Regions from separate parts of the Homo sapiens genome. Here all the other regions are linked to region 3. The links are contacts of gene promoters, found by promoter capture Hi-C in human tissues and cell types (Jung and others, 2019). All regions are on one chromosome and are shown on one strand. The core of a region is centred on a gene start or on the middle of the fragment in contact, and the rest is flanking DNA. Distances in the headings are between cores, read along the strand shown. Region 1 has its middle 38 kb from the start of LINC01678. Region 2 has its middle 23 kb from the start of ICOSLG. Region 3 holds the start of DNMT3L (DNA methyltransferase 3 like).

Evidence for each region. The method cuts DNA at HindIII sites, captures the fragments that hold promoters and counts their contacts. A contact is called where the count stands out against the background at its distance.
Region 1: a fragment that was not itself captured here is called in contact with the fragment with the promoter of DNMT3L in region 3 in 3 of the 25 tissues and cell types used here (dorsolateral prefrontal cortex, hippocampus and mesenchymal stem cells).
Region 2: a contact is called between a fragment that was not itself captured here and the fragment with the promoter of DNMT3L in region 3, in 6 of the 25 tissues and cell types used here (H1 embryonic stem cells, IMR-90 fibroblasts, dorsolateral prefrontal cortex and 3 more).

What each region holds. Positions count from the first base shown.
Region 1 is chr21:44,196,236-44,200,265 of GRCh38, forward strand. No RefSeq gene overlaps it. Among named protein-coding and RNA genes, the nearest start is that of LINC01678, 38 kb to the left of the region's middle. RefSeq lists cis regulatory regions at 1-448, 1-449, 1-451, an enhancer at 74-263 and a silencer at 828-1,006. The HindIII fragment of the contact is 3,712 bases long and covers 506-4,030 here.
Region 2 is chr21:44,215,616-44,219,603 of GRCh38, forward strand. It overlaps a transcript of ICOSLG not described here. Among named protein-coding and RNA genes, the nearest start is that of ICOSLG, 23 kb to the right of the region's middle. The HindIII fragment of the contact is 6,285 bases long and covers 1-3,988 here.
Region 3 is chr21:44,260,247-44,264,454 of GRCh38, forward strand. DNMT3L (DNA methyltransferase 3 like) reads right to left here and starts at 1,651. Exons shown (of 12, transcript NM_175867.3): 1 at 1,494-1,651; 2 at 908-1,020; 3 at 549-593. The coding sequence starts at 1,013. RefSeq lists an enhancer at 1,366-1,925. The HindIII fragment of the contact is 12,940 bases long and covers 1-4,208 here.

The DNA.
Region 1 (4,030 bases), core at 1,112-3,611, 63 kb before region 3:
GGCCCTGTTCTAAGAGATGGGTGGCTGGAGCCTGGCTGGAGGGCACTAGTGGCACTCTGGGCTGGTCTCCCAGGGCCCCATCTGCCAGGTCGGGGGCCCACGTGGGCCTGCAGGATGTGCGTGCTTCTCTGCTGTTGAGATTGCATCAGCACAACAGCCACAGCCGTGACACGGGGGCAGGCACCTCAGTGACGCCAGAGTCGGGGCGGGAGGTGTGGAGATCTGGGCTTGCTTCCTCTTTTCAGTCCCAGGACAGCTCCTCTTTGGCTGTGGGAGGCCCAGCTTCAGCCTTGTCTGTGGCTTCCTGGTGGGAGGACACAGGCCTTGAGGGACGTTTGTCCGAGACGGTCCTCATCCTACTGGTAGGGACACAGAGCACCTGTTCCTCTGGCCCCTCCAGGAGCAAGACACATGCACTGCTGAGGCCTTGGAAGCCTACACAGGTTTATCACCCACGGCCAGACCTGTCTGTCAGGGAGCAGGTGGGGTCATCCTGCCCTGAAGCACCGATGAGCTGATCCCGGTCATGCAGAGTGGGTGGGGACCTCTTGGCTGGGCCTGTTCATGTAGCACACACGGCTTTGCTGCCCATAGAATCCAGGGCCCCCAGTGTGAGCACCACTCTCCATCCCTGAGGCCGAGCCTTACCCTGGAGGCAGCCTCAGGTGAGATGCCCCTAATGGAGCCACCTGGCAATGGACCGCTCTCAGGTCCTTCAGCTCGGTGCACTCACCCGGGAGCCCTGCGTTCTGTCCTGGGGTAGAGGCTCAGGGTTGGTTTGAAGCCATATAGTCAGCTCCCAGAGTCACAGAAACGTCCAAGGAAGAAAACTGTCCGATTACAGACTTTTAAAATTCATTCATAGTTTAATCAAGAGAACTTGCTGTTCCTTCCTCAAATTTCCTAGAATTGGTCTTCTCATAATCACCACCTAGGGCACAGCTGTGGCCGAGGCTCCCATGATGAAGCGTCTGTGTCAGCGCTGACGAGGTCTGCCGAGGACGCGTTTCTCTCTGCAGCCCGGCACCAGTCTCAAGGCCATCGGCTCCGACAGCGTCACCTCCTGGGACCTTCCCTTCATGTATGGTCCCAGCGGCATGCGGGCCTGGTGGAGGAGGTCCTGGCCTGCCGCCCAGGGATGGCCGGTCCAGGCGCAGGGCCGATTGTCCACTTCTGGCCCCTGAGGTACCGGGAGGGCTGGTGAGCAGCATGTCTCGCTCTGAGACCGGCCAGGCTGCTGGGGCAGGCATCTGATGTACAGTAGTTCCCACACGTGGCAATGTCACCAGCAAGAGCCACGTATGATAAATTCAGGCCGTCCACCGTGGCAACACTGGGAAGGCTGATTCTGTAGGAAAGGATTGGCCTTGGGCCATCACTGTTCAAAGAAGAAGAAATCCCTGGATCACTGTCTGATCCAACTCCAGACAGACACTCCACACAGGATTCCTCCTGGGGATCACGGCTCTTCTCTTGGCGGAGAAGAAGGAGGGAGAATGAGCCCATGTCGGGGGCCTCTAGGCAGCCCGCCACAGCCCTACAACTCAAAGAAAACTCACCAGTCCCTGGTCACTCGGATGTCCTTGGAGGCGCTTGGATTTACTGCAGGGACCCCAAGAGTCGGCCACGGCAGAGCCCCGTCTGCCAGCCCACCGAGGACTCGGGGAGGGGAGGGAGCACTGCAGCAGAACGGAAAATGGGTCCACGCTCAGCTTCTTGGTTTATCATTTTAGACTTTATGCGTTGGCTTCCTGCGACAAATGGTTACATTTTAACCCTTTTACAACCACATTTCCTCCCCCAATCCTCTCAATGTCATGATTTTTCTTTTTTCTTTTTTCTTTTTTTTTTTTTTTTGAGACGGAGTCTCGCTCTGTCGCCCAGGCTGGAGTGCAGTGGCACAACCTCGGCTCACTGCAAGCTCCGCCTCCCGGGTTCACACCATTCTCCCGCCTCAGCCTCCCGAGTAGCTGGGACTACAGGCGCCCGCCACCATGCCCGGCTAATTTTTTCATATTTTTAGTAGAGATGGGGTTTCACCCTGTTAGCCAGGATAGTCTCGATCTCCTGACCTCGTGATCCGCCTGCCTCAGCCTCCCAAAGTGCTGGGATTACAGGTGTGAGCCACCATGCCCGGCCATGATTTTTCTTTTGGAAATGGAGTCTCACTCTGTCGCCCATGCTGGAGTGCAATGGCACAGTCTCAGCCTCGCCGCGCCCTCTGCTTCCTGGCTTCAAGCAATTCCCTTGCCTCAGCCTCCTATGTAGCTGGGATTACAGATGCGCGCCACCATGCCCAGCTAATTTTTGTATTTTTGGTAGAGACGGGGTTTCACCATGTTGGCCAGGCTGGTCTCGAACTCCTGTCCTCAAGTGATCCACCCACCTTGGCCTCCCAAAGTGCTGCGATTACAGGCATGAGCCCCACGCCCTGCCTCCTTGTCATGGCTTTTACTCCACAGTGTGTATGCCGTTGAAATTGAATAAATATGGATTACAACAGAGACCACTGTTGTGCTATGATTACATTTGTCAACTTAGATAACAGAGAGGCTCTGTGAAAGAAAACGACATTTATTCAAAAATAGGGCGTTGCAGTCGGAACACACGTGCGGTGGTAGACTGTGTGTGTTCAGGGAGGTAAAGGGAGAAAAAGGCTTTTAAAGGGAAAACGAGGATCACACCGTTGTTTTGAGGCGATTCCCCTTGTCTACAAGCATCAGCGGCGGGGGGTGCCAGTCCAGGGTTGGACCGCAGTTGCTGGGCAGATGTCCTCACAGTATTTTCTGTCCATGGTTGCAGTGGACTTCATACAGCGTTGTGGTTTCTCAGTATTTTGTGATAGTAATACAAGAGTTATTAAGAAATAATTTTTATGCCGGGTGCGGTGGCGCACGCCTGTAATCCCAGCACTTTGGGAGGCCAAGGCAGGCAGATCACCTGAGATCAGGAGTTCGAGACCAGCCTGGCCAACATGGTGAAACCCCATCTCTACTAAAAATACAAAAATTAGCCGGGCGTGGTGGCGGGTGCCTGTAATCCCAGCTACTCCGGAAGCTGAGGCAGGAGAATCGCTTGAACCCGGGAGGCGGAGGTTGCAGTGAGTCAAGATCACGCCATTGCACTCCAGCCTGGGGGACAAGAGTGAGACTGTGTCTTTAAAAAAAAGAAAAAAAAGAAATAATTTTTAGGCAGCTGGATAGGGTAAAGGTTCTAGGTGGAAACTAACAGAAAGGCGGCTTAAAGAGCCAGACCAGCAAGCTTTGATATGCAAACGCCGGCAAATAGACACTGGGTCTACCCAACATGGCGATTCCCACATCTTCTTGTCGACAGGTGTGCCAGGTGTCATGGCCGCCCCCACATAACACCATGTGTTCAAAACGTCATGGCAACCCACATTTGCATATTAAAGGACTAAGGTGGGAGGGCCAGGTTTCTCATGGACTACGTGAATGATACACCCGGTCAAACCAATTCCCTGCCCCCTATGCAAACCAGACACCGCCTCCTCCAGCCTCCCGCTATCGTGGAATGCCCTTCTGCGGCATGCGGGGCCTCTTTGCTCTGAGCCCCACTGCGTCTCTGTATAGGGGAGCTGTTTTATTCTTTATTCCTTCTTCCTTGCCTATTAAACTTTCTGCTCCTTAAAACCACTCCACATGTGTCCATGTCGTTTTATCTAAATCGGCGGAGGACCAAGGACCGTGATGTTCCTCCAGTCATTGGAGCCGTATCAATAGCTCTTGCTATCAGTAATTCATGCAGGAGAACCCTCCCTTTATGGCCTCCCCCAGCGCTATTTGTCAGAGTATATGTCGCCCGGGCTGGAGTGCAGTGGCATGATCTCAGCTCATTGCATCCTCTGCCTCCCAGATTCAAGGGACTCTTCTGCCCCAGCCGCCCGAGTAGCCAGGACTACAGGTGCCACCATGCCCGGCTAATTTTTGTATTTTTAGTAGATACGGTGTTTCACCATATTGGCCAGGCTGGTCTCAAACTCCTGACCTCATGATCCACCCACCTCGGC
Region 2 (3,988 bases), core at 1,433-3,932, 44 kb before region 3:
GCCGGGTTACAGTTTGGTTTTACTCATTTCAGGAAGACACAAGTTACAGGCCAAGACATAAATCAGAATGTGGAAGGTGCACACTGATTTGGCCTGAAAGGCAGGAGATCTTGGAGCAGGGTTTACAGGTCATAGGTAGGTTCCACGATTCTTTTTTTTTTTTTTTTTTGAGACTGTGTCTCACTCTGTCGCCCAGGCTGGAGTGCAGTGGTGCGATCTCAGCTCACTGCAACCTCTGCCTCCTGGGTTCAAGTGATTCTCGTGCTTCAGCCTCCCAAGTAGCTGGGATTACAGGCGCCCACCACCATGCCTGGTGAATTTTTGTATTTTTAGTAGAGACGGGGTTTCACCATGTTGGCCAGGCTGGTCTTGACCTCCTGACCTCAAGTGATCCGCCCACCTCGGCCTCCCAAAGTGTTAGGATTACAGGCATCAGCCACTGCACCGGCTGGTTCTGCGATTCTTTAGTTGACGGTTGATTGAAAGCGTGAAGCTTTGTCTACAGAGGTGAAGTCAGCTGGAAGGAAGGCTGGAATTAAGATGAGGGGTGTGGGGGCCGAGGCCCTTGGTTTGCAGATGAAGCCTTGTAGATTGCAGCCCTCAGAGAGAATAGATGGCAAATGTCCCTTTTCAGACCTTAAAGGTGTCAGGCCCTCAGTTAATCTCTCCTAGGTCTGGAAAGTACTAGAAGAGGAAGTCCTGGCTGCATTCGTGGAGATTCTCTATGGGTGCTAGTTTCTCTGAGAAAGGATGGTTCTGTGGGACCCTTTCAAAATATGTCAAAGAAATATATTTTAAGGCAAAATATTCTCATTTCCTTCAGAGTCTGCTATCCGTCACGTGATGCTATACCAGAGTCAGGCTGGAATTTGGTGTCTTATTGCCACATAGAGTGTGTTCCATCCGTCTTAGGATCCTGATTTTAATGTCAGGACTGGCCAGCTGTGCCTCAACTCTGAAAGGGAGGGTTGTGGCTGTAACCAGCAAAGGTCTGGCTGCTCACCGCTTAAAAAGAAGCCACGATGACAAGAGTGGGGCGTGATAGAAAGAGAGTGAGCTGCCGGGCGCGGTGGCTCACACCTGTAATCCCAGCACTTTGGGAGGCCGAGGCGGGCAGATCACGATGTCAGGAGATCGACACCATCCTGGCTAACACGGTGAAACCCCGTCTCTACTAAAAATACAAAAAATTAGCCGGGCGCGGTGGCGGGCGCCTGTAGTCCCAGCTACTCAGGAGGCTGAGGCAGAAGAATGGTGTGAACCCGGGAGGCGGAGCTTGCAGTGAGCCGAGATCACGCCACTACACTCCAGCCGGGGTGACAGAGCGAGACTCCGTCTCAAAAAAAAAAAGAAAAGAAAGAAAAAAGAAAGAGCGTGAGCTTCATTCTCATGCTAGCAAGGGGGAGATTGGCCGGAATCCTTTCCAAAAATGGCCACTCTTCAATTTGTAGAGGGACGTGTAGAGGGGGTCTGGAATGCAGGCGAGGCAGGGGCCAGGAGGTGCCAGGTGACCTGCTCTGATGGCTTCTCTTGAGTTATTGTTCCATCTGTTACAGTAGGCAGCTGGTCAGACATGAGCAGGGCAGGAGAGGGCCCTCCCAACCAGGAATGTCAGGCGACCATCAGTGTTGGTCGGGTGGCTGTTAACTGTCTCTCTAAAATAATAATTGGTCACAGCCAACGCCAGGGAAAGGCAGCCTCCCAACAGACAGAAAAATCCTTCCCCATAAGACCTCAGGCATTGGGTGAGTGGGCTCAAGCATGTGTATTAAAAGGCAAAATTGTGGAGTGTAACTGGTCTATGGCCTCCTAGGGACATTTGACAGGTAAGGGAACAACGCCTCAGGTAAGCAGGCGCGCAACTCCAGTAAACACATAGCGCGTGCTCCTCCCAAGGGCTGGCAGCCACTGCACATGTGGACAGCCCACCCCAAGGGAAGAATCAGGGGAGAAGGCAGGCCAGACCCCGGAAGCGTGCCAACATATAAAACCCCAAGTCGAAGGTCAAACCACACACCTGTCCTTCAAGTCACCTGCTTGGCCCCCTTCCAAGCGTCCTTTCCTTCCTTTCATTCCTGCTCTAAAGCTTTTTAATAAATGTCACTCCTGCTCTAAAACTTGTCTCGGTCTCTTCTTCTGCCTTCTGCCCCTTGGTCGAATTCTTTCTTCTGAGGAGGTGAGAATTGCGGCTGCCGCAGACCTGTACGGATTTGCCACCGATCACAGGTTTTGGTGCCGTGTCACTTGGATAACTTCCACCACAAACACATCTGGTGAAGGGGCTGCGCCATCGCGGGTCGCCCCCAGATTAGAAATCAATCACAGTCAATCTTGCAGTGAGTCTTTAGCCAGGAGTAAGCTCTGGCCTCAAAGTAACCCGCCTGCTGGGGAAGGAATTCTGGAGATGCCTGGTTCGTCCCAGGATCTGGCCCCCAAAGCTTCTAGGAAATAGATGACCAGACAGGTGAGCATGGTGTGCACTCAGCAAGCATCCAGATAAACAAATGTGCACAGGGCCCGGGAGCTGCAGGTGGGAGAGGGAAGGCAGTAGGCTCACAGCTTGCTCCCAGGCTGGATTTCAAGATGAAAGGAAGCACATCTGTAGTTTGCTCAAAGCCATGTCTTGAGACTGGGGAGAAAGGAGGAAAGAAAGGCCGTGTTAAAACACAGTTCGAAGCTGAGCTGCTCGGTGACATAACGAGGCCTGTGCGACCACCCAGGAGGAGGTTTTTCAGGCTTCTCTGGGGTGGACATGGCCAAGCGGGGGTCACTTCAGTTGGCTGGGGACTTCGGGTTTTATTTTTGGTTTACACTGGCCTGGGATGGAACTGGGCAGTTCTAATGTGACTGGGTGTGTACTGGTGGCTTCACTCACCCAGGGCAGGCAGGCACCTGGAACCACGACTCAGAAAGAGGCAGGAAGGTGGAGTGAGAAGATGGAGCTATTAGGGGCGTGGCAGGGGCAGGTCAATCACCCTGAGGCTTCGGGGAGTTTCCTGGTCTCCAGAAGGGCAGTGTGCTCACCCTCCCCTGTGCATGGTGTTGTTAAGAGTGTTATCAGGAGTGTCTGCTGAGCTGTGACTTTGCCGTGCCATGCAAATACTCACAGGCAGCACTACTGTCAGGAAGATGGAGGCTGGGCCGGGAGGCTTGCTTTCAAGGCCACGAGTGTCAAACCCACAAACCGCAGAGCAGAACAGCCTTGGCCAAGCAGATGAGGAGGGCCTCATCCTCCATCTCCCGCCACCATCCTCTTCCCAACTGAAGTCAGAGGCGGGGAGGTGGGAAGTCCTGTCAGAGGCAGGGAGGTGGGACGCCCTGGGCCAGACAGATGATCCAAAGCCCTTGGTTTTAGGTACCATCTCTTCGATGTTTCTTGGCTGAGTAAACCAGCCCAATCTCTTTTTTATAAAATGAGACCACAGGTTGGCCTGAGAATGGAGAGGAGTGAGGAATCTAGCTGTTCTGGGGCCCCGGGCTGTTCAGAATCCATTGTAAACCATTGGAAAGCAGGTTTGTGTATTTGTTTAACTGCATCTTGTGGCTGGTCATTGTCTCTGTCTAAGCTCTCACCCAGCCCGGCTGCCTTCCCTGAGTCCCCACCTGACCTGCACAACTGCTGAGGACGAAAGCCTGTGTCCCCGACATGCACGGGAGAGCAGTGTCTTCCCAGGCCCTAGAGTGCCTGGCTGTGTGGGCAGCCCCAGGGCACAGTCTTCTAAAGAACCTCATTGAGGGTCGGGGGTCGGGGGAGTGGGCTCCAGGGTCCACTCCCAACCTTACAGCTTTTACCTCCGGAATCCCCAGGCTTCTGTCAGGAGGGTGCCTGAGTGGCTTACAACAAGAACTTTGCCTATCCCTTTACTGTTCGCAAAACACCATCTCAAAAATCAGTCAACATGGATTCCAAGTTTTGCCTTAGGCCACACTGGATGGAGTTGCCCCCGGCTGGAAGACAGGACCTTTATCCCCAGTGCCACAGGAGGAT
Region 3 (4,208 bases), core at 401-2,900:
CCTAGAGTTAAAAGAAGGGAAGCAAGAAGGGGGAATTTGGAGTGACTGTTACTAGACATGGGTTTTCTTTTCAGGGTGATGAAAACCTTCTAAAATTAGATGGTGATGATGGTTGCTGACTCTGTAAATAAACTAAAATACATTAAACTATATGCTTTAAATGAAGCTACAGGGGCCTTGGGAGGGGGAGAAGGGATACACGTGGCACAGTGGTGTCCACTGCCTCCTTCCAGGATCTCACCGTCACCCAGGCTGGAGTGCAGTGGTGTTATCATAGCTCACTGCAGCCTCGACCTCCCCAGCTCAAGCAATCCTCCCAACTCAGCCTCCTGAGTAGCTGGGACTACAGGTGCATGCCACCATGCCTGGTTAATTTTTATTTTTATTTTTTTGTAGAGACAGAGTCTCACTATGTTGCCTAGGCTGGTCTCAAACTCCTGGGCTCAAATGATCCTCCCACATTGGTCTCCCAAAGTGCTGGGATTATAGGTGTGAGCCACTGTGCCCCGTCTCTTTTGTCTGGTGTGGGCCAGTATGCAAACACTCACCTTCTATATTTCGCTGGTTAGCCTTGACTTCATATGCAATAAGATCTGGAAAGGAAGATAAGAAGTAGCCCCTTTCTTCTTCCTCTGATCTCTTAATTTAAATTCGGCCAGGAAGTGAGCATCACAATTCGTTTTCCAAAGTCACAGGAGCCTGAGGTCCCCTGCCATCCCGCCCTCACACCTTATCTTGGTGTGTTAAACGCCCATACCTGGGGGAAGACTGTGGGTGGGGAACCTCCTGCCCCAGCCCGGGTGCCTGAATAATGCATGAATACTCCAGAAGCCTGGAACTCCAGACCTCATCCAGGCCTGGGATCAGCATCCTAAGTGACTGGTCCAATAAGCAGATGAGCCCTCACCTCTGCCTGTCCCGGGTGAAACGGAGCTTGAGAGCTCACTGGATCCCACCAAAATCACGTCCATGCTGGGCTCGGCCTCTGGGTCCAGGGCTGGGATGGCCGCCATGGGGATGCTGTGTCAGGACACACGGACACAGATGTGAGAAAGCCGTCAGCCCCTGCTCAGATCCCTGATGCACCCCAGCACGGGAAGCAGCTTGCTGAGCAGACCTTGACTAGTTCAGGCCACCTGAACCCCCGCGGTGACACCCACCTGCCCAACCCAGGGATGAGGGGCAGGACAGCCAAGGCCAGTGCCAGCCCTGAGAGGGGCTCAAGGGTCCCCTGAGGCGTGCCCCCCACCTGCCTGGCCCTGTTACAACATGGAAGATGGGGCAAAAAGGGGAGGGCAGGGCCCTCATGAGGACCTGGGGCCAATGGCCGCTGCAGCCCCTGCTTTCCTCTGGGCCCAGCCTTCGACCCCTCAGGGACTCCCATGCCCCAGCCTCCTACAGTGTCCCTCAGGCCCAGCAGGGACCCCTGGGGATGGTCTTGGCCAGCCGCACCCTTGAAGGCAGCATGGTCAGGGAGTAGGAAAGAGACTCACAGGGCTGCTGCCACGGCTCCGGGTACAGCCAGCTGGTGGGTTCAAGGTTCCAGTGGTCCGGGGCTTCCAGGCTCAGGGTCCCCGGGGAGGACTGGGCCATGGAACGAGGGACGGCGCAGGCAAAGAATGAGCTGGAAGGATCCAGGCCCACCTGGGACAGCGGGTGGCCAGAGGTCACCAGGCTATGGGGGCAAAGAATCTGGGCGTGTCCCGCGGGGGCGGGGAGGGGCGGGGGCGGGGCAGCCCTTCAGTGCCGGTTTGCAGTGGGAGGGGCGAGGAGCTGCGGGGGGTCACTTGGGGTGGGGAGCTAGGAAGCTGGGGGACGGGCAGGGAAAGGGAACCCTCAGGTGGGGAGGGTTAAGAGCTCAGTGGGGCTGGGGGATTGGGGTTCAGAGGATGGGGCCCTCAGGGTGGAGTGAGGGGTGGGGTTTGGGGACCTCAGTGGGGAGTGGGGTTCAGGGGAGGGGTGGAGATGGGAGGACTGGGGATGGGGCAGATGAGGGGGGTTTCAGTAGAGGGGGGCCCTTGGGGTGGGGTGGGGGATAGGGGTGGCTGTGGGGTAGGGGCAGGGCGCTCAGAGGTGGGGTTTAGGAAGGTCATAGGGGTGGGCTTCAGGGCAAGGGTGAAGAAAGGGATGAGGGTGGAGGGTGGAGGGGTGGAGGGGTGGAGGGTGGAGGGTGGAGGGTGGAGGTAGGGCAGGGCGGGGGGTTAGGTGGAGTTGGCCCCCTGGGTGGAGATGGGTGAGGATTAGTGGAGGTGGCCCTCAGGGCAGGGTGGGTGGGTGGAGGGCGGGGCTTAGGGAGATCTGTTGGGGGATTAGGGAGTGGGGGTGGGGGTGGATGCTGAGTTGGAGATGGGGGCCTTCAGGGGAGGTGGTCCTTTGGCGGGATGGGGGTGATGATAGGGTGAGGGTGGGCACTCCGGGGCAGGGCTCAGTGGCGGGGGTCGGGGCTCAGGGCAAGGGTAGAGACGGGGTGAAAGTAGGAATGGGGGTGTGAGGCCGAGGATGGGGGTTTCAGGGGAGGTGGCCTTTAGGGCAGGATAGGGGTGAGAATGGGGTGGGGATGGGCCTCAGGGATCTCAGGGTCGGTTGGGATGGGAGTGGGGGTGGGGGTAGATGGTGAGGAGGAGATGGGGGTGTTCAGGGGAGGTGGTCCTCTGGCGGGATAGAGGGAGGGGCGTTCAGGAGCCGGGCTTGGGAGCTCAGTCTGGAGCCCCAGGTTTGGGGGGCAGCTGTGGGGGAGAGAAGGAAACAGGGAAGGCCCTGGAGGATGGGGTAAGGGGTGTTGGGTGGGGAATGTCAGGGCAGGTGGGGGGTTGGGGAGCTGGGAGGGGTAGGTTCAGGGTGGGGGTGGAACGTGGAAGCAGGGAAGGGAGCAGGAAGGTGGGGTGGGCAGAGGGGCAGTGTGGGAGGTGCGGGGTGGGTTGGGAAGGGGGACTTTGTTGGAGGGAGGTTAGGGGCTTCAGAGCAGGGGGCGGAGGACCGCCGGGCAGGGCTGGAGCCACAGGACAATTGTGCTGGTCGAAAGTGGGAGAAGACCCTTGCGGGAGGTAACCCCCCTGAAGTGTGGGCTGGGCCTGGTGACTTCCTTCTGCAAGTACTGCATGAGGGGTGACCACACAGGGGCAGCCTGATGACCCCTTGGCCCCTGGCCCAGGCCAGCGTCTCGGGGAGGATTCGCCTGGGTGGGTGCCCCGCACCGGGGCTTTCTCCCCCCACCCACAGCCCAGCCTCTCCAGGAGTGAACTGGGTCGGAGCAGAGGCGGCCCAGTGCCTGAGCCCTCCTCACTGGGGCAGTCAGGCCGCCCAGCGGGAGAGTCTGAAAAACAGCGGGGCAGGGGGCGGGGGGACCCTGAGGCACTGCGACAATGAAGTGTCACATGGGATCCCGGGACAGAGAGGGGCGGTAGGGAGTGGGAAATCTGAATAAAATGTGGCTCCTTGGCTCTAAGTTGGTGTGTCTGCAGGTTTGTTCATGTAACCACAGTGTCCATGGGGGCCTGAGGGCTGGGTGGGGGTTGCGGCAGTTCTGGACTAGCGCCTCAAGGTTTGTATAACTTTAAAGCTGTTCTAACATAGTTACTTTTTTTAATGAAAAAAAGTGAAGGGAGAGAATACTGAGGATGACAGTGAGATCACTTCCCTGTGTTTGAGTAAAATGATCTTGTTTTCTCCTCCTTTTATTCCAAAGAGCTTTGTTTTTCAGGAGCTCACGGGATTGAAAGTGATTAGAAGGAGACAGCGGGAGCAGCAGGCCCATCTGTCCCCTGACCCCAGCCCCACACCCAACCTCCCCTGCCCTGCAGGGCTGTTCCCACCAGCACAAGTGGAAAGGGGAGAATTCCTGGGGGCTGGTTTTGGCTCCAAGGAGGGGCAGTTTTCTTTTTTCTTTTTCTTTTTTTTTTTTTTTTTGAGATGGAATCTCGCTCTGTCGCACAGGCTGGAGTGCAGTGGCGCCATCTCGGCTCACCGCAAGCTCTGCCTTCCGGGTTCACGCCATTCTCCTGCCTCAGTCTCCCGAGTAGCTGGGACTACAGGCGCCCGCCACCATGCCCGGCTAATTTTTTGTATATATTTTTTTTTTTTAGTAGAGATGGGGTTTCACCGTGTTAGCCAGGATGGTCTCGATCTCCCGACCTCATGATCCACCCGCCTCGGCCTCCCAAAGTGCTAGGATTACAGGCGTGAGCCACCGCACCCGGCCTGTTTTTCTT